Regions from separate parts of the Homo sapiens genome. Here all the other regions are linked to region 5. The links are contacts of gene promoters, found by promoter capture Hi-C in blood cells and fetal thymus (Javierre and others, 2016). All regions are on one chromosome and are shown on one strand. Each heading gives the region's core, a stretch centred on a gene start or on the middle of the fragment in contact. The rest is flanking DNA. Distances are from core to core; before and after follow the strand shown. Region 1 overlaps FANCM (FA complementation group M). Region 2 has its middle 29 kb from the start of MIS18BP1. Region 3 overlaps LOC107984674 (a long non-coding RNA gene). Region 4 has its middle 45 kb from the start of MIS18BP1. Region 5 holds the start of DORIP1 (dopamine receptor interacting protein 1). Region 6 overlaps MIS18BP1 (MIS18 binding protein 1). Region 7 overlaps MIS18BP1 (MIS18 binding protein 1).

The links. Contacts are between HindIII fragments. The CHiCAGO score rates a contact against its expected background, and 5 or more counts as called.
Region 1: a contact is called between a fragment that was not itself captured here and the fragment with the promoter of DORIP1 in region 5, in 13 of 17 cell types (fetal thymus, total CD8 T cells, activated CD4 T cells and 10 more). The highest score is 11.9, in fetal thymus.
Region 2: a fragment that was not itself captured here is called in contact with the fragment with the promoter of DORIP1 in region 5 in 16 of 17 cell types (non-activated CD4 T cells, naive CD8 T cells, total CD4 T cells and 13 more); the score reaches 12.6 in non-activated CD4 T cells.
Region 3: a fragment that was not itself captured here is called in contact with the fragment with the promoter of DORIP1 in region 5 in 17 of 17 cell types (activated CD4 T cells, non-activated CD4 T cells, total CD8 T cells and 14 more); the score reaches 36.4 in activated CD4 T cells.
Region 4: a fragment that was not itself captured here is called in contact with the fragment with the promoter of DORIP1 in region 5 in 1 of 17 cell types (neutrophils); the score reaches 8.6 in neutrophils.
Region 6: a fragment that was not itself captured here is called in contact with the fragment with the promoter of DORIP1 in region 5 in 17 of 17 cell types (activated CD4 T cells, total B cells, total CD8 T cells and 14 more); the score reaches 17.4 in activated CD4 T cells.
Region 7: a fragment that was not itself captured here is called in contact with the fragment with the promoter of DORIP1 in region 5 in 12 of 17 cell types (non-activated CD4 T cells, activated CD4 T cells, total CD4 T cells and 9 more); the score reaches 14.1 in non-activated CD4 T cells.

What each region holds. Positions count from the first base shown.
Region 1 is chr14:45,198,461-45,201,216 of GRCh38, forward strand. FANCM (FA complementation group M) reads left to right here. Exons shown (of 23, transcript NM_020937.4): 22 at 184-475; 23 at 1,410-2,430. The coding sequence ends at 1,548. Among named protein-coding and RNA genes, the nearest start is that of MIS18BP1, 53 kb to the right of the region's middle. RefSeq lists an enhancer at 1-466. The HindIII fragment of the contact is 1,579 bases long and covers 701-2,279 here.
Region 2 is chr14:45,280,891-45,283,745 of GRCh38, forward strand. No RefSeq gene overlaps it. Among named protein-coding and RNA genes, the nearest start is that of MIS18BP1, 29 kb to the left of the region's middle. RefSeq lists a silencer at 1,003-1,203. The HindIII fragment of the contact is 7,998 bases long and covers 1-2,855 here.
Region 3 is chr14:45,257,065-45,259,995 of GRCh38, forward strand. All of the region lies in intron 1 of LOC107984674 (a long non-coding RNA gene), which reads left to right. Among named protein-coding and RNA genes, the nearest start is that of MIS18BP1, 5.3 kb to the left of the region's middle. The HindIII fragment of the contact is 2,604 bases long and covers 119-2,722 here.
Region 4 is chr14:45,296,921-45,299,966 of GRCh38, forward strand. No RefSeq gene overlaps it. Among named protein-coding and RNA genes, the nearest start is that of MIS18BP1, 45 kb to the left of the region's middle. The HindIII fragment of the contact is 2,384 bases long and covers 217-2,600 here.
Region 5 is chr14:44,895,967-44,898,774 of GRCh38, forward strand. It overlaps DORIP1 (dopamine receptor interacting protein 1), which reads left to right and starts at 1,309. Exons shown (of 5, transcript NM_001017923.2): 1 at 1,309-1,602. RefSeq lists enhancers at 954-1,003, 1,628-2,127 and silencers at 1,494-1,623, 1,644-1,963. The HindIII fragment of the contact is 3,873 bases long and covers 968-2,808 here.
Region 6 is chr14:45,219,379-45,222,338 of GRCh38, forward strand. All of the region lies in intron 11 of MIS18BP1 (MIS18 binding protein 1), which reads right to left. Among named protein-coding and RNA genes, the nearest start is that of MIS18BP1, 32 kb to the right of the region's middle. The HindIII fragment of the contact is 2,277 bases long and covers 410-2,686 here.
Region 7 is chr14:45,237,231-45,240,164 of GRCh38, forward strand. MIS18BP1 (MIS18 binding protein 1) reads right to left here. Exons shown (of 17, transcript NM_018353.5): 5 at 418-491. Among named protein-coding and RNA genes, the nearest start is that of MIS18BP1, 15 kb to the right of the region's middle. The HindIII fragment of the contact is 5,284 bases long and covers 1-2,934 here.

The sequences.
Region 1 (2,756 bases), core at 240-2,739, 300 kb after region 5:
GTTACCCCTATTTTCTTTCTCAGATATTTGAGAAACATTAGTTGTAGGGTTTCTCATTAGCAGAATGTGGCACCAGTTTGCTCAATGGTGTAGATCTTGGGATTTTAATAAAATAAAGTATATTAATAATTCTACTTAATATTAGTTACTGAAGTTTGCCTTTCCCTAAATATGAATATTTAGGAGACACATCAAGGATGTTTAGGAGAACAAAGAGCTATGACAGCCTGCTGACTACCTTAATTGGCGCTGGAATCCGAATTCTTTTCAGTTCCTGCCAAGAAGAAACCGCAGATTTGCTAAAGGAACTGTCTTTAGTGGAACAAAGAAAGAATGTTGGTATTCATGTTCCAACAGTGGTGAATAGTAATAAAAGTGAGGCACTCCAGTTTTATTTAAGTATTCCCAATATAAGTTATATAACTGCATTAAATATGTGTCACCAGTTTTCATCTGTGAAAAGGATGGCTAACAGGTATGTCTGTTGTAATATTTTTAAATGATTACTTTTAAAAGATTCGTAAAAGCATTCCATAGAAGTTTAATGTTAAAAAAATTTAAGCGGCATCATGCCTGTTAGATTATTTTATTCAGTAAACATTTTTTGCCTGCCAACATATATTAGTTACTGTATGAAGCTAAGGGACATTATTCGAAAAAAAGAAAAAAGAAAAAATAGGTGTAGGGATTTCCTTTGAGAAGCTTAGAGCTCTGTGGAGAGACAATAAATAGCAGTTTCCTTTGACCTTGCAATCTAACATTTCTGGGCTGTTCAGTTCTGTAACAAGAAAAATGAGTATTTTACTAGTTGTGATCATTATATTGCTTGAAGAGGGAGATTTTAGAATGTAGTTCATTTTAATTAAAGGCCTACATCAGATACTGTCTTAGCTCATGCTGCAATGATAAAATACACAAACAACACAAATTTATTTCTGCCAGTTCTGGATACTGGAAGTCTGAGATCATGGCTGGGTTCTGGAGAGAGCTTTCTACTGAGTCACAGACTACTGCCTTCTCATTGTATCCTCACATGGCAGAAATAGAGCTAGCTAGCTCTTTGACCTCTTCTTAAAAGTGCACAAGGATATCCACCTTTATCAACTAATTCTCAAAGTTGCCACTTCCAAATACCATCACATTGGGATTACGGCTTCAACATATGAATTTTGGGCAACACAAAAACATTCAGTTCATTGAAGATGTTGAAATTGTTATTCTAGATAATTTTAAGGAAAGGAAACAAGTAGCTCTTTTATCCAAACTAATGTTCAAGACATATCAGCTGGGCGGATAATGCTTGAGATGATTTCCTTAAAGGCTACTGTGTTTGGTGTTCTTTAGGTAATATTAAATTTTATAAAAGCCAAAAGTCCTAGTGTAATGATTTTGTCTCATTTATTTTTCAGCTCACTTCAAGAAATCTCCATGTATGCACAAGTAACTCATCAGAAGGCTGAGGAGATCTATAGATATATTCACTATGTATTTGACATACAAATGTTACCAAATGATCTTAACCAAGATAGACTGAAATCTGATATATAATCAAGCTGCTCAAGATGGGGTTTTCAAAGACCTCTCACAATATTAAATGCACTTCAATAATCATTGCTGTTTTATGTTTATTTGTAAATAAGAGAATATTTTATTTAAATATTTTATATTGTATACATTTTTATTTATAGATTATAGAAATTATTAAAAAAGAAAAATCTGATGTTCAGTGATCATTTTGACTAGATTATAAAACTAATTTTTCTTATTAAATAAAACAAGGTTTATTAAAAGTGTTACTAAGGATAGTTTAAGAAAGTAAAAGCTAAGCTAGAGATATACTTTGGAATGTTTCCCAAAATTAAAGTTGTACTGTTGTGATAAATAGTAAAGTTGACATGTCTATGACTACAGCCAACTTGTCGATTTTCCCTATGTGTAGATAGTATACTTTTAAGTGTACTGATTCTAAATACATGTACTTGGTAAGGTGTGGGTGATGGGTGGGTTGTGAGATAAATGACCCAGTAACTAGGAAAGTAGAAAACTTAACTGAATGTTTATCTGACCAAAGGTGTGTCCCAGTTAAGTACTGTCAAATCTATTAATATGAACTCTGATATGGTTTGGCTGTGTCCCCAACCAAAATCTCATCTTGACTTGTAATCTGAATTATAATCCCAATATATTGGGGAGGGACCTCCTGGAACGTGATTAGCTCATGGGGGCGGTTCCCCCATGCTGTTCTAGTGATAGTTCTCAGAGGATCTGATGGTTTTATAAGCTTTTCCTCTGTTCACTCTGCAGTTCTCTTGCCTACTGCCATGTGGAAAAGGAAACGTTTGCTTCCCCTCCACCATGATTGTAAGTTCCCGAGGCCTCCCCAGCCATGCAGGACTGTGAGTCAATTAAACATCTTTTCCTTATAAATTACCCAGTCGGGTTATTTCTTCATAGCAGCGTGAGAATGGACTAATACAAACTCCCAGCTACATTACTCTTTTTTGTTGCTGAAATATATTCAAAATGGTATATTGGTTTGGACTTAGAAAGTTTCTTTTTAATATAAATTACTGAATGCAGGCCCATTATGTTGACCCTATTATATTTACCGTTTTGATCCATTCTGTTGTCTGTGATGGCATTAAGAAGGCTCTGCTTGGGGCCGGGCGCGGTGGCTCACGCCTGTAATCCCAGCACTTGGGGAGGCCGAGGGGGGCGGATCACGAAGTCAGGAGATCAAGAACATCCTGGCTAAC
Region 2 (2,855 bases), core at 162-2,661, 390 kb after region 5:
CTCTTCTAGTCGAGTTCCTGTTGGTTCAGGCAGTAAGAAACACCAGCGAGGGGATGGAGGAAGTGGGGAGGTAGAGAGGAGAGATCAGGGCATTTCTTTCTTTTTTCCATCCCTGCCTTGGAGCTGTGTTCTGGCTGGGGCTGCAGCTGTGCAACTACTGGCTTCCACTCCCCTAACTTCCCCATCACTCCATGATATGGTTTGGCTCTGTGTCCCCACTGAAATCTCATCTCCAATTGTAATCCCCATGTGTGGAGGGAGGGACCTGTAATCCCCATATGTTGAGGGAAGGAAGTGATTGGATTATGGGGGCGGTTTCCCCCATGCTGTTCTTGTGATAGTGAGTGAATTCTCACGAGATGTGATGGTTTTGTAAATGGTGGTTTATTCCTGTGCTCTCACTTCTGTCTCACCTGCTGCCCTGTAAGATGTGCCCCCTTCCCCTTCTGCCATGATTATAAGTTTCCTGAGGCCTCCTCAGCCATGCAGAACTTTGAGTCAATTAAACCCCTCGCTCCCTCCCTCCCTCCGTTCCTTCCTTCCTTCCTTCCTTCTTTCCTTCCTTCCTTGTTGCGGGAAGTCAGGGACCCCGGACGGAGGGACAGGCTGAAGCTATGGCAGAAGAACATAAATTGTGAAGATTTCATGGACATTTATTAGTTCCCCAAATTGATACTTTTATAATTTCCTATGCCTGTCTTTAATCTCTTAATCCTGTCATCTTCGTAAGCTGAGGATGTATGTCGCCTCAGGATCCTGTGATGATTGTGTTATCTGTACAAATTGTTTGTAAAATATGTGTGTTTGAACAACATGAAATCTGGGCATCCTAAAAGAAGAGGATAACAGTGATTTTCAGGGAACAAGGAGATAACCATAAGGCCTGACTGCCTGCAGGGCCGGGCAGAACAGAGTCATATTTCTCTTCTTGCAAAAGCGAATAGGAGAAATATTGCTGAATTCTTTTTCTCAGCAAGGAACAGCCCTGGGAAAAGAATGCATTCCCAGGGGGAGGTCTCTAAAAGGCCGCTCTGGGAGTGTCTGTCTTATGCAGTTGTACATAAGGGATGAAATATGCCCTGGTCTCCTGTGGCGCCCCCAGGCTTGCTAGGATTGGGAAATTCCAGCCTGGCGAAGTTCTAGTCAGACCGGTTGTCTGCTCTTGAACCCTGTTTCCTGTTAAGATGTTTATCAGTGACAATGTGTGCCCAGCAGGACATGGACCTTCATCAGTAATTCTAGTTTTGCCCTGGCCTTGTGATCTCACTCTGACTCTGCCCTTGTGATATTTTATTGCCTTTGAAGCATGTGATCTCTGTGACCCACACCCTATTCGTACACTCCCTCCCCTTTGAAAATTGCTAATAAAAACGTGCTGGTTTTGCAGCTCAGGTGGGCATCACGGAAGCTGCCAATATGTTATGTCTCTCCTGGTGGCCCAGCTGTAAAATTTCTCTCTTGTACTCTTTCTCTTTATTTCTCAGACCGGCCGACACTTAGCGAAAATAGAAAAGAACCTATGTTGAAATATTGGGGGCTGGTTCCTCCGATACTTTCTTCCTTTCTCTCTCTTTCTTTCTTTCTTTCTTTCTTTCTTTCTTTCTTTCTTTCTCTCTTTCTTTCTCTCTCTTTCCCTCCCCCCTTCCTCCCTCCCTCCCTCCCTTCCTTCCTTCTCTCCTTCTTTTTTTTTTTTTTTTTTTTTTTTTTTTTTGAGACAGAATCTCCCTCTGTCACCCAGGCTGGAGTGCAGTGGCAGGATCTTGGCTCACAGCAACCTCTGCTTCCTAGGTTCAAATAGTTCTCCTGCCTCAGCCTCCCAAGTAGCTGGATTACAGGCGTGTGCCACCACGCCCAACTAATTTTTTTTTTTTTTTTGTATTTTTAGTAGAGATGGTGTTTCACCATGTTGGCTAGGCTGGTCTCGAACTCCTGGCCACAAGTGATCCACCTGCCTTGGCCTCCTAAAGTTCTGGGATTACAAATGTGAGCTGCTGTGCCCTAAACCTCCTTTCTTTATATATTACCCAGTCTCAGGCATTTCTTTGTAGAGTGTGAGAATGGACTAATGCACTCCAGCTCCAGCTTATCACTTCAGGCCGAGGGGTGGTAACAGTTCCAAAGTGCTCAGCATCCCTGTAGCATCTCTTAACCGTATTCACACATCTGTAGATAGTTTATTTATTAAGTTATCTCCAAACCTCAGCTCAGTCTCCTGTTTCCTGCTGAGACCCATACTCTGGGAATGAACTAAGGCAGGTTAGTATACTCTTTCCTAGTGGTATAAAAAGTGGATACTCTTATTAAAAAAGAGGGCTCTTAACAGATGGAAAAAAATATAGATTTTTTTTTCCTTTGGAAGTCTTTAAAAATAAGAGAAATGTCTTTTTTTTGGGAATGGTTTCTGTCTGTTTAATAGATACGGTTAGAATATTAATGACAGTCATATCTATGTGTGACCAATCAGTTGTTGAGCACAGTTCTACTCAGCCATTTCAGTGCTTTTGTGCAGGTTTTTCTTTAAAATTTAAATACAATGTATCTTTTGCTGTTTATTTTTTTAATAAAAAAATCTCTTTTTTAAATAAAAAATATTCGGCCGGGCACGATGGCTCATGCCTGTAATCCCAGCACTTTGGGAGGCTGAGGAGGGCGGATCATGAGGTCAGGAGATCGAGACCATCCTGGCTAACGTGGTGAAACCCTGTCTCTGCTAAAAATACAAAAAATTAGCCGGGCATGGTGGCAGGCACGTGTAGTCCCAGCTACTCAGGAGGCTGAGGCAGGAGAATGGCGTGAACCCAGGAGGCGGAGCTTGTAGTGAGCTGAGATTGTGCCACTGTACTCCAGCCTGGGTG
Region 3 (2,931 bases), core at 171-2,670, 360 kb after region 5:
AAAGAGTGTAGCAGCAGGATTTTATTTTCAGGGGCTTTCCATTTTTTTTTTTTTTTGCAACCCACAGAAATATTGTACATTGTAACTTAATAAATACACAAAACTCAATTAAACAAAAAGCTTTAAAAGCATTACTTAACATTACTCTGCAGTGTGTGCTGTTATTTTCTGTTTCCTCTTTAAGAAAACTTCCTATGGTGTATGATTGTAATACAAAATGAACATTTTCATGTTTCAGCATGGTCAGGGCTTTTAATTAAAAAATTAAGGTAAAATTCACTTAAAATAACCATTTTAAAGTGTACAATTCAATGACATTTAATGCATTCACAATGTTCTGCAACCACCACCTGTAAAACATTTTTTATCATCCTAAAAGGAAATCTCATACCCCTTAAGCAGTCACTCTCTCTTCTCCCCTCCCCACAGTCCTAGGCAACCACCAATCTTCTTCCTGTCTCTATGAATTTACCTATTTGGATATTTCATATAAATGGAATCATACAATATTACAATATGGACCTTTTATGTATAGCTTCCTTCACAGTTTTTTTCTGAGGTTTATATATCAAACATTGTATGTTGTAGATTAGTACTATATTCCTTTTTGTGGCTAAACAGTATTCCATATTTTGTGTGTGTGTGTGTGTGTGTGTGTGTGTGTGTGTATACCACATTTTATTTATCTGTTCCTCCATTGACATTTGGGTTGTTTCCACCTAAATCTATACTACCTTAGTTTGGATTGATACCAACTTAGTTTCAACAGCATACAAAAACTCTGCCCCTAAACAGCTGAGTCCTCTCCTGTATGTTTCTATTATTACCGATTGCATCTATATACATTGTGTGTTCATTAACATAGATTTGTAATTATTTTATGCATTTGTCTTTTAAATCATATAAAAAAAGGGAACTACACACCAAAAACATAGCGATCCTGGCTTTTGTATTTACTGATGTAGTTATATTTATCTAACTTCCTGATTTCTTCTTAGAGCTTTTAGTTACCATCTAGTTTTCTTTCATTTAAGCCTGAAGAACTCCCTTTAGTATTTCTTATAGTATAGGTCTACTTGTGACAAACTCCTTCAGCTTTTATTTACGTGCTAATGTCTTAATTTCTCCATTGTTTTTGAAGGACACTTTGCTGAATATAGAATTCTTGGTAGATAGTCTTTTTCTTTCAGCACTTTGACTATGTTATCCCACTGCCTTCTTGCCTACATAGTTTCTGATGAGAAATCAGATGTTCTTATTATTGAGAATCACTTGTATGTGACAAATCTTTCCTCTCCCTACTTTTAAGATTTTTTTTTGTCTTTGTCTTTTGACAATTTGATTATAATGTGTCTCAGTGTGGAACTGTTTATATTTATCCTTCTTGGAGTTTGTTGAGATTCTTGGGTGCATAGGTTCCTGTCTTTTACCAAATCTGGGCAGCTTTTGGTTATTTCTTCAACATCTTTTTCCACTGTTTTATTTTTCTTCTCCTCTGGGACTCCTGTAATGTGTATGGTGGTACTCTTGATTATTCCCATAGATTTTTAAAGACTCCAATAATTATTCTTCATTTTTTTTCTTTTTTCTTTTTTGTTTTTTGAGACAGAGTCTGGTTCTGTCACCCAGGCTGACAGGCAGAATTATGACTCACTGCCTTATGAACTCCTGGGCTCAAGAGGCCTTTCCACCTCAGCCTCCCGAGTAGCTCAAACTACAGACACATACCACTATACCCAGCTAACTTTTTTTTTTTTAATTTTTGTAAAGACAGAGTCTTACTATGTTGCCCCAGCTGGTCTTGAACTCCTGGGCTCAAGTGATTCTACTGTCTCAGCCTCCCACAATGCTGAGATTACACGTGTGAGCCACCGCGCCTGGTCTTTCTTTTTTCTTTATACTCCTCAGTCTGGATAATTTTGATTGTAGTCAACAGTTGTAAGTTCACTCATTCTTTATTCTGCCTGCTCAAATCTGCTATTGCAACCCTCTAGTAAATTTTCATTTCAGTTATTGTATTTTTCAGCTTCACAGTTTCTACTTGGTTTCTTTTCATAATTTCTATCTTTGTTGATATTTTCTATTGTTAACACATCATTCTTCTGGTTTCCTTTAACTCTTTGTGGTTTCCTTTACCTCTCTGAGCATATTTAAGACAGTTGATTTTAAATTTTTGTCTAATATGTTCAGTGTTTGTGCTTCTTTAGGGAGAGCTTATATTAATTTCTTCTGTAAATAAACCATACTTTCTAGTTTCTTTGCATGCTTCATAATGTTTTTGCTGGAGACTGGACATTTGAATATTAAAATATGCTAACTCTGGACATCAGATTCTTCTCTCTTCTTAGGATTTGTTGTTGTTGTTATTGCTTCCTGTGAAATATAGTTGTTTGCTTGTTTAGTGACTTTTCTATATGATCTTTGTAAAGTCTGTATTCTTTGTCCTGTGTGGTCTCTGATGTCTCTATTCCTTTAGCTTGTGTTCAGGGGTGCTTTGATAGATATTTTCCTGATCACCAGGAGCTATCCTAGAATAGAATAAAGTAATAAAAGAAAAGAAAGAAACAACAACAACAACAACAACAACAAAAAACCCTCTTCCAACCTTTGAAGATTGGCTGTGTGTTAGAGCATGCTTTCAGTACTTAGCGAGGCCATTTATAACTCTGCCTAAGCCTTCACTCCCTGCTTGTGCTGAGCCCAAAGATAAGCCAGAAGTAAAAGCTTAGGGTCTTTTTAGATTGTTTTTGAACATGCATCCTGTCCTAGGCACGTGCATAGCTTCTAAATTCCTCAGTATATGGAGACACTTTTGAATAATTTCCCAGAGAAACTCTACCCAGCTTTTCCTTGCAGGCTTTCACTGCATCTATTATTTGCCTCAATTGTAATTCTTTGTCCTAGGTGGCAGCATGTTGTCCATTTGTCTTA
Region 4 (3,046 bases), core at 159-2,658, 400 kb after region 5:
TAAAAGGAATGCAGGATTCAATAAAACATCTATTATTAATGTGTTTTAGTTATTTAAATGGGAGTACAGGATTCTGGCTGTGGAGGATCAGAGCTAGAAGATACTTTAAAAGTGTACTATAATAATGTTTTTCAAACTTTAATATGCATATGAATCAACCAGGGTTGTATTTAAAATGCAGAGTTGGCATGGGGCCTGGGTTCTGCATTTTCAACAAGCTTCTAAGTGAGGTCAATGAGACTGATCTACAAACCACACTTTGATAGCAAGGTACAATGACACAAGTAAAAATACCCCAAAATATCGTATTTCTACAATTATATAATAAATACAACTTAAAAATTCTCTGTTTGACTGTATCTTACACTTGGGCCATGAATCCATCAGGAAGCTCAGCAAATGCCACTGCTATAGTGTGACATTTAAATTAAAAATAGATCATTCAGTGGGCTGTGCATGGAGGCTCATGCCTGTAATCCCAACATTTTGGGAGGTTGAGACTGAAGGACGGCTTGAGGCCAGGAGTTTGAAACCAGCCTGGGCCATATAACAAGACCCTGTTTCTACAAAAAACAAACAAACAAACAAAAAAATTAGCTGAACATAGTGGCACACACCTATAATCCTAGCTACTTGGGAGACTGAGGCGGGAGGATCCCTTGAGCCCGGGAGTTTGAGGTTGCTGTGAGCTATGATTGTGCCACTGCATCCCAGCCTGGGTGACACCTAAACTCTGTCTCTGTTTGTTTTATATGAGTTATGCTGAAGTTACTTCTACGGAGTGATATTTTTTATCCCATGATGTCCTGAGGTGGTATCACTCTCTGGTGGCAGTTGCCCTTGCTGTGGTCAATCCCCATCACAGATTAGGCTATGTAGTCACTTACTTTCCAAAGGTAAAGAAAAAAACAGTGTTTTTTTACTGAACTATAGTTACCTTGGCATACTTACACAAAAACACTCAGTGTATTATAAAAATAAGGCCTGGCCAGGTGCAGTGGCTCATACCTGTAATCCCAGCACTTTGGGAGGCTAAGGCAGGAGGATCACTTGAGGTCAAGAGTTCAAGATCAGCTTGGACAACAGAGTGAGGCCCTGTCTCTACAAAAATTAAAAAAAAAAAATTAGTTGGGCATAGCATGTGCCTGTTGTCCTACTACAGGACTATCTACTCTGAAGGCTGAGATGGGAGGAGTGTTTGAACCCAGGAGCTCAAAGTTGCAGTGAGCTATGATCATGCCAACGTACTCCAGCCTGGATGACAGAGTGAGACCCTGTCTCTTAAATAAATAAATAAATAAATAATAAGGCCTGGTGTTATGTGATTTCATTAAATTAAAATTCATGTGGAGGAAAAGAAACACTTGAATGGTATAATATTCTAAGTTCAGATTTAGTTTATATTGAATTCTTATAGCATTCTGGGTTAAATATAAAACTTTTAAAAGAAAATAGCAGGAAAAGTAGAATTAATTATATTGGCAAACATTTTATTATTCAAATGAGTAGTTACCACTTTGCTTAAAAATAGCTTTAGAGTGGTGTTTGGAACCCATTTTTTCACATGCTTGTAATTCAGCATAATTTTAGCAGACTTTTTCATCTCTGATAAAAAAGGGCTTCTTTTGGCTGGAAAGGTACCACCCCTGTTTTCCATTTTACTCATGCATTCCATACACAGCCTGTGTGTAATAGTAATAAAGTTGTGTGGTAGACGCTTAACCTGGCTCGTGAATGTGGTATTCCTCCTTTGCCATTTGTGCTTTTTCTCTGAAACTGAAAAAGGCGCCAGAAAAGTACAGAGAGAGTGCACAGTTTCTCCTGAAAGTGTTATGGCTGCCCCGTCTCTGTTGACATCTATTAAGATTCAGGCAACAGGAGATCCTCACTTTAAGGTACAAGGGAGTGTTATTTTGGCTTTACATGAGGTGGTGGTGGTTGTTTTTGTCTCTGAACATCTTCAACTCTCTCAGGATTGTGCTGTGTACTAAAAATAAAACAACTATAGCTTGTGATTCACTTTGTTTTCACTGAGTCAGGGCTGTAGATTCCAGGAAAGATTCAATGACATAGGAGAGTTGTAAAAATGGAAATAAAATTGCTGAATCTGAAATGAAGATGATCATAGTAACTTGTGCATGCTAAAAATCAAGCCTAATATCTGGAAGCTCTGACTTCTTCTAGATTTTACATGAGGAAATCATTTTAATATTGTATTGTTACAGTGCTCATGATTACCTGGAACCCTTTGGGACTGTTTACATGGAGCTGTTCACCACGGATATTTGCATGAGAAATGATATATATTAGAATTTATTTTTAAAAGAAATCAGCAGGTCATATCTCTCCAAATCAATTTCACTCAAGGCAATACTTTTAATAAATTTTCAGCACAATTCAATCACCATTGTGGAAAGAAGGAATTAAAAACCTAGGTAAGGATGTGATTAGCCAGTATAGGCTTATACTGGCTATATAGACAGAACAGACAGACACCTACAATAGAAGAACTCTCCTGGCAGAACACTTTCTCTCACAACTCAAAAATTTCATCTTTAGAAATTAATTTCTATTGGCCTTGCAGGCTTTTGATCTTTTAAAGCTTTCACACTAAAATATAAACATGCTTTCAAGGCATAGTACATTAAAAATGCAGGAACTGGATTTGTACCTAGTTTGAAGGCAGTGTTCAAATAGTGCCTAAGGTATATCTCTAGTAATGTGTCTTTGAAAAGTTGGGTTCAACATTTTAAAATTATTTTGTTAAAATGACATACTCATTAAATTGGCAAATGATGAAGCTGGGAGACATAGCTAATATGTCAGATGATAGCATTAAAATCTAAGTGATCCTGATTAGCTGGAACAGGAATAGAAGGCTAAATTTAAGAGAATGAAATTTTTTGACCACTAGAGTTAAAATGCTGCTTTTTTCTTTTCTTTCTTTTTCTTTTTTTTTAGGTGACTAAACAACAACCATCAACAAACCCGTACATAATGTATAATGTAGCACATGTGGTAACATCTTAGGGGTACTGTTGACTGT
Region 5 (2,808 bases), core at 59-2,558:
TTTTCAGGAAGAGAATGACCTAATCAGTATAAAATGAACTCCATGTCTTGTGAGAGATTTATAATTAAACACATAATCCACATTTACAAACATTTTTAAAGGGCTTTTCTACCTGTAGGAGAGGATTAATATTGAGAGTGAACTTTTTGCAAGTTTTCCAACACACTAGTTTATCTCTAAGAGCCTCAGTTTCCTCATCTATAAAATACCATAAGAAATAAGAAAAAACAGGAAACTAAAAAGAGCAGGCTTTGCCAGAGCTATTAATTATTCTTTTTTGGGCAGAGCCAAAACTCAAGAAATGGAAGTCTCTCTTCCATTTCTAGACTTTTTTAGAGAGATCCATGAGGAAGTTCCCCTCCATAGCTTTGGCCGACCATCACACCGGTCAAGAAGGCATCCAGCCTCTCCCAGGCTCAGCCTGTGACGGAAAACCACACTGATTTACTAGGATAGCCTTGAGCTCTCTCATTAGCCCTCACGTGTTCTGAACGTTAGAGCTAACTTTCCAGACCCTCATTATTTGTTGAAAGGCTGGATGGGGAAAATCTCAACCAGATCTCCATGCCTACTTGCAAGGAGAGGTAGTTTTTGCAGGGTGGCCTGTGTTCTCCAGATGCAGAGCCATACAGGGCCTTGCTTCTTTACGGGAGATACAAAAACTCGGCCCTAATAAACAGAAATAGTGGTTGAGCCCACAAACTAGCATTAAGTTGTCCTAACTGTAATTTCCAGCTCCGTCACTTGCTGTGTGGGACCTTATTATCTCCAAAACCCAATTTTTTCAACTTCACAATGGAATTAAAACAATCTAATTTTTCAAAATGGGGTTAACTTCCACTGTAAGTTACAGTATATTGGCCAATAATTAACTTGAACACTAAAGCTGGCATTTAACAGATCAATTCAACTGTTTTCTAAGTAAATACTTAAACGCTTAAAAAACCGTAATTTACTGAGAAAACAAAGCTTTCTTTCTAGGTTAAGAATTTGAGAAAACAAGACCCAGAAGCAAACTAAAATCAAGTCCTAAAATGGTACAAACCTCAAAAAGCCAATCAGGTTTGCCAATAAAGCTCCGCCTCCGTGCAAACTCTGCCCACTTCCGGCTTCCCCACCCACCTTCTACCAGTGGAACCCCGCCCCTCTCTGCGAGGTCCCGCCCCCCACACCTGATCCTGGTTCCCATTGGGCGAATCTGGATGCTGTATACACAGCCGACACACGCACATTAGGCTGGGGCGTCTTCGCGCCTGCGCAGCTGCGCTGTCAGGCGGCTGAAAACGGGGGGGTTGGGGGGAGGGGGGCGGAGGTCGTGCCGAATCTTCCTCCGTAATAAGAAGCGACGTGTCCCACTGTCCTGGCTCCGTGGGTCCAGTGAGATTGGGCCTGGGCGCTGGAGCTGCTGTGGCTCCCGCCGCGGCGGCTGCCATGGAGGCCATGCCAGAGCCCAGAACTCACGCCGGGGGAGGCCGAGACAGCCGGCGGTACTCATAGATGAGGCAGCGGCGGCGGCGGCGGCGGCGGCAGCCCGGGCTCTCCATGAGCAGGCGGCGGCGGCGACGGGTGCGGCGGCACCGGCAGTTTTCGGTCCCCAGGGAGGTACGAGGAGTTTGCTTCCTGGTGGACGGAGACTGGCCGGTGTGGGAACGCCTTCCGCGGCCCGGCCCTCCAGCCTATTTGTCCGCAGTTCTGAGCACTCGGCGGGGCACTGCCCGGGCAGAGGCGGGGGCGCCCAGCCGACTCGCGGGCCCCTAACTCGGGGACCCGCCCGCCTCGGTGCCAGGCCTCCCGGGCGCGGCTGCCCAGGGCCAGGGTGGGCGTGGCCGGAACGTGGGGGCTCCCCGGGGGCGCACGCCTAGCGTCCGCCTTGTCCCTGTCCCGAAGTCCCGCGCTGCTGGGAGCGGTAGCGCGTGGCTGTACAGGCGTATTTTAGGCGCTGATTTGAGAGGGGACTTTTAGAATCCCTGAGTCCTTAGGGAGTCTGGCGTTCAATGCCTTGGGCATGTGGTGGGGTCCTCACGGCTAGCTTGGGGTACCAATTTCCTCCCTTGGAAGTCACCACGAAAGAAAGATGTTTTGTCAAAGAAATAGAGGTCAGGAGAGTTTTCCAGGTTTATTCAAATTGGAGGGCCCGTAGAGCCTGGAGAATAAAGCCAGCGGAATACATCCTCCAGTCCTTCTAATTACAGTTCCTAGCTAAACAGCTAAGACAATTTTAAGTAAAGCTCTTCACAGCTATCTTTCCATCATTTTTCCCCACCCCTCATTTTTATTGCAATTTACTTTGGAACAAATCACCAAATTCATGATGAAACTAGTATCCTCTAGTTCTTCCAAACCTTCCCTCCTCCCGTTTTTTCCAGAGAAAGACTAAAGTTTCATGCCACATATGTCATTATAGTTTAATTCTCTTAGAGTGTAAGGGTAGTTACACTTCATTTGGTCATGTCTGAAGATAATGTGAAGAAAATATCCTAGAGATTTATGCTTCCTTCCCAATGCACTATTTTAGGAATCCGAACTCAGGCTCTTTAAGCAATCTTAAACCTTGCTACAAAGTTCTTTAAAATTCAACGGAAATAAATCAAACCATAAAGTTATTTTCGTTTTTAAAGTATTTGAATGCATAACTGTTTTTTAAAATCTTTGTAAACAAAACGAATCAGTATCTATTACGAAGAAACTGAGTTTGTGTTTTCCTAGGCTGCAGATTTGCCACACCCTCTTCTTCCTAAGTGGATGACTAGAATCAATGTGTTGGCCAACTAGATATAAACATCCACTCTTCATACTAAATATAGTTAC
Region 6 (2,960 bases), core at 298-2,797, 320 kb after region 5:
TAGTTGATGTCAAGCTACCAACATGTCACTGACTGTGGAGTTGATAAAACACGTGTGATAGCACACAATTACATAGTATTTCCACCATACCACAGAGGTGAAGAGTCTCAAGAGCATATATATATAATAAAATGGAAAATAATTAGGAAGTAATGAGTTTTAAGCATTATCTTTGTTTTAAATAATTTAAGTTTATATAATTTTTTAATGACTTTAACACTCAATTTGTAAAATTCTCCAAAATTTAACAATCAGCTCTTGTGAACAGCTACCAGCTGACCACAGCATATTATTCCATGCAGAAAAGCATAATACTTATGAGCATTAAATACTTGTTAATGAATTCTTTTACATAATTAATCATTCCACAGTGTTCTAAAGTGAACAACTAGAAGGACTTGGGAACTCAAGCTTCTCTATTTGTGTGTGTGGCTAATTTCTAAATCTACGACTGTCTAAAATAACTATTACATAACACAAATAATAATGTATTTAATAAGAAATTAGTACTTAACACATCTCCTCTAGGTTATTCCAGATAATTTAAAAAGACAAACTTAAACATATCACACCATGTTTAAAACTTGTTTCATTATTAGCATAAAACCCCAAATCCTTAGTGTAACGCTGTATTGTTCCTTGCCCAACTCTCTAGTCTCATCTTGTACTGCTCTTTGGTCAACTTTCAGTATTCCATTCATTCTAGCTTTCTTTATTTACCTTTCTTTTTTTTTTAAAGAGACAGGGTCTCAATCTGTCACCCATGCAGGAGTGCCGGGCATTATCATAGCTCAATGTGGCCTCCAACTTCTGGGCTCAGGCGATCCCCCTGACTCCGCCTCCTTAGTGGTTGGCACTACAGGCACATACCCCACACCCATTCTTTCAGTATTTCCAAATATGCCCTCTTTCTTTATACTTTTGTGTATGCTATTCTAAGGTCCATTTGTCTTGAATCCTTGGCTTAAATAATTCTTATTTATTGATATAGTTTAAATATGTGTCCCTACCCAAGACTCATATCAAAATGTAATTCCCAGTATTGGAAGTGGGGCCTAGGGGGAGGTGATTGGTTAACGGAGGTAGATTCCTCATGAATGATTTAGCAACATCCCTCTTGGTACCATCCTTCTGATGGAGTTCTCATGAAATCTGGTCATTTAAAAGTGTGTAGCACACTTTTCCAGAATGTCATATAAATGGAATCATATAGTGTATAACCCTTTGAGTTGGCTTTTTTCACTCAATATGCCTTTGAAATTCAACCAGGTTGTTGTATGTATCAATAGTTCTTCCTTTTTACTGCTTAGTAATCCACTGAAAGAATGCACCCTAATTTGTTTATGTAGAAAGTACGACAGAAATCAGGGAGAGGGAGGAGCTTGGCATAGCAACCCTTTAAAGTTGTTTATGAACTCCTAGGCCCATGCTGCAAATTTTGATATATTTTCATTTTTGTTCAGTTAAGAATATCTGGCCGGGCTGGTGGCTCACACCTGTAATCCTAGCATTTTGGGAGGCCAAGGCAGGTGAATCACTTGAGGTCAGGAGTTCGAGACCAGCCTGGCCAACATGGTGAAACCTTAACTCCACTAAAAATACAAAAACTAGCTGGATATGGTGGCACACACCTGTAATCCCAGCTACTTGGGAGGCTGAGGCAGGAGAATTGCTTAAACCCAGGAGGCGGAGGTTGCAGTGAGCTGAGATCGTACCACTGCACTCTAGCCTGGGTGACAGAGTGAGACTCTGTCTCCAAAAAGAAAAAAAATAAAAGAAGCCGGGCGCGGTGGCTCAAGCCTGTAATCCCAGCACTTTGGGAGGCCAAGGCGGGAGGATCACGAGGTCAGGAGATCGAGACCATCCTGGCTAACACGGTGAAACCCCGTCTCTACTGAAAATACAAAAAATTAGCCGGCGTGGTCGCGGGCGCCTGTAGTCCCAGCTACTCGGGAGGCTGAGGCAGGAGAATGGTGTGAACCTGGGAGGTGGAGCTTGCAGTGAGCAGAGATCGCGCCACTTCACTCCAGCCTGGGCGACAGAGCAAGACTCCGTCTCAAAAATAAATAAATAAAATAAAATAAAATAAAAGAATATTTTCTACTTTCCTTTAAGTCTTCTTCTTTGACCCACAGATTAGTTATACGTATTAATAAGTTATTTAATTTTCAACCACTTGGAAATTTTCCTATCTTTATTTTATTGATTTGTAGTTTAATTCAATTATCATCAGAGAATATGCTTTGTATGATTTCAGCTATTTTAAATCTGTTAAGAGGTTTTATGATCTATCTTGATGAATGATCAACCTATCCTTGGAAATAACCTATTCTTTTTCTTATTATTGGGTGGAATGTTCTGTAAATGTGAATCATACGAATGACTGATGGTGTTGTTCAGTTCTATATCCCTGCTAATTTTCAGTCAGTTCTATCAAATACCAAGAGAGGAGCAGTGTGGTTTCCTATAACTGTGGATTTGACTATCCTTGTAGTTTAGTCCGCTGCTTTCACTTGTCAGTTTTTAACTCATGTATTTTGAGGTTTTATTGTCAGGTGCATACACACTTAGGAATTTCATGCCTTCCTGGTGACTGACCCTTCTATCATTTGTAATGTCTTTCTTTATTCCTGGTTATTTTCTTCCTACTAAAGTCTATTTTGACAGATATTAATATAGCCACTCAAGCTTTCTTTTGATTTGTGTTTAGACGGTATTTTTCTATCCTTTTAACCTACCTATATCATTATATTTAAAGTGAGTTTGTTGTATACAGCATATAGTTAGATCATGTTTTTAAATTCATTCTGACAATATGTCTTTTAATTGGTATGTTTAGACCATTTAATTTAATTATGTTGGATTTAGGTCAATAATTTTATTATTTGTTTTCTGCTTGTTCCATGTAAAAAAATCCTCCACTTCTCTTCTTCTTTGCCTTCTTTTGGGCTATTTGATTT
Region 7 (2,934 bases), core at 417-2,916, 340 kb after region 5:
CCGTATGGCAAAGTTTTAAGTAATTTTGATTCCTTTTCTGGATCAGTAATTTATATCTGGTTGTCCCAATTTAGATGTGAGAATCTGGACTGAAATGCATGTAGTAAATATTAACTGATCATATATAATTAAGCAGATAATACCAGTCCACTTATTAGCACCTCAGAAAAAAATAAACCACTATACAAATTTGAACTGTCATTATTTTAAGAAAAACTTGAGTAAACATGCAAAAACAAGAAAGCTGGTAGCAATCAACATGGCTAGGACCTGCACAGTAATTTTACTTTTTTGCCTTCAGTTCATAACCTTGTTAGGTCTTTGCTTTGTGGAGGATGCTATTTCTCATGCATTAACTCTTAAGTGCTTACACATAACTAAAGTTTTATTAAAAGAATAATGAAATAGTATACTTACATCAATTTTCCTTCTACACATATAGCAGTATTATTATTGATGCTTTTAATCATCCATTCCTGTAGCTGAACTACCTAATCAAGTATAAAACAAAGAACATATTTCCTGTATTACTTGCAGCACAAGCATTACAAAATTAACTTACATTAAAAGAAAAAACTTGTCTAAGTAATCCAAATATTCCTTAGTGTCATCGATGTAAGATTCACATTCTATTCTAAATAGCAATAGGTAAAATTCTTGTATACAATGAAACAGAAAAGAAAAGACTGAATTCAGGTTGTATTGCATTTGTTCTACAATCAAGAAGCAATTATACTTCAAATACTCTATCACCAAATCTCAACTGGTGGGGACAAAAATCATGTAAAATCCCAAGGTACAGATTAAAACACCAAGTCCTGCAAAAAGCCCAGTAACTTGGAGTGAAAAGGAGTTAGCTATGTTTTGTCCTTAAAAAATTAAGAGTTTTTTTTTTTTTTTGTAAAGTTTAGACCTGTATTCCAATTTTCTACAAACTAAAAAGGTAACTGCTGGTAATCTAGATTTAACAGTATTTTATTCCAAAGTAAACATCTGAATAGCTCAGAGAACTCTTTATTATCTTACTACAAGTAAAATATCATTCTAATGGAAAACATTTTATGACAATCTATGCAAAGAAATTCTTGAATATAAATTTCATAAAATTTAAGATTGAACTACTTCTGATGAGAAAAAAAGTCAAAATTTATGGAATAATTTGAGTGGCAATTTACTTTATATGTAAAGTTACACATTTACAAATAAAAACAAATTCTCCAGTGGTAGTTTTATACTGAGTCAGGAAAAGACATTAAAATGGGACAGTCTTTGTTATGGCACATGTTGATTATGTTCATTTAAAAAATTATAGGTGATGGCTGAGGACAGTTGCTTAAACCTGTAATCCCAGAACTTTGGGAGGCCAAGTCGGGAGAACTGTTTGAGCCTAGGAGTTCAAGACCAGCCTGGGCAACATAGTAAGATTCCAAAAAAAAGTTTAAAAATTAGCTGGGTGTGGTGGTACACACCTGTAGTCCCAGCTACTGGAGAGGCAGAGGTGGGAGGATCACTTGAGCTTGGGAGGTCGAGGCTTCAGTGAGCCTCAACAGGTGATGGAACAAGACTCTGTCTCAAAAAGTAAATACATAAAAATAAAAAATTATAAGTAGGATAGTTTATAAGCCATGGGTCTCAGTAGTAATGGCGAGGGGATCCACCATCTTGTCTTACCCTCACCCAAGACACAAATATGGCTTCTGTTTTTAAGCCCCTTTTAAATGTTTCTTTCTGAAAAAAGTAAAAAATTATAGGTAGGACTTGGGGAAGTAACAGTAAATAATACTCTCTTTTTGCCTTCTCCCACATTTGGAACTACCTGAGATATATCAACGCACCAGTCAGATGGAGATAATAATCCTGTACCATACTATTATACTGCTTATATAAGATATCAAAATGTTCATTCATTATTCATTCAACAAATATTTGTTGAGTTCTACACACTGTTTTAGATAGTGGAGATTGAGTGAGAAAGTAAACAGCTGCCCCTCTTAGGGCCAACATTCTTGTGTGTGTGTTAGGGTTGGGGGTGGAGGCAAGCAGGATAATGGCATCTAAACCAATATGAAAATGTCAGGTGGTGGTAATTACTATGAAAAATAAATAAAAGGCATTAGATAAATGAGGTGCTTTTTAAGACAAAACAGTCAGGGAACGTCTTGGAAGAGAGAACTGAATAAAGTGAGCAATGAGTCACATGGATATCAGCAAAAAGATTCTTCTAAGCACAGAGAGTCAGCGCAGAGATCCAGGTAGGCAGCATGGAAGGCATAATTTGAAAGGAGTAAGTGAGAGGGAATAAGTGGTGAGGTTGGAGATCTCCAGGATTAACTAAGTACAGCTCGGTAAACCATGGTAAAGGCTTAGTGTTTTCTATTGAGATGACAAGTTACTGGGGATTCTGAACAGAACGACAAAATTTGATATTTTAAGGGACTGTTGGGTAGAGATGAGACTATATGAAGATTTTAGCTTGTCTGGAAAACAGACTGAAAAAGGAGAAAAGCAATACTGGAAGCAGGGAGACCACTAGGCTATGACAGTCATCCCTGGACTAGGAGGTAGTGGTTGAACAGTGAGAAGAGGCCGCATTCAGGAGAGTAGAGCCAATGGGATTTCTTCATGGTTTGGATGTGGAGCATGAGAGAGAAACAAGAGTCCAAGATGAATCTAAAATTTTGCCTAAATACTGGGGCCAATGGTATTACAATGTACTAATACAGGACAATGGAGAAGGTATGGTAAAGAAATCAAGAATAAGAATCTCACATTTTCTCACATTTTCAATTTGAGATGCCTATCTGATATCAATAGAAAAGTCATATAGACAACTGCACATGAGTGTGGAGTTGAGAAGAATTTTCTGTGCTGGAAACATATTGGAGAGCTATCAGCATAGAGATGGAATTTAAAACTATGACACTGGAAATACAG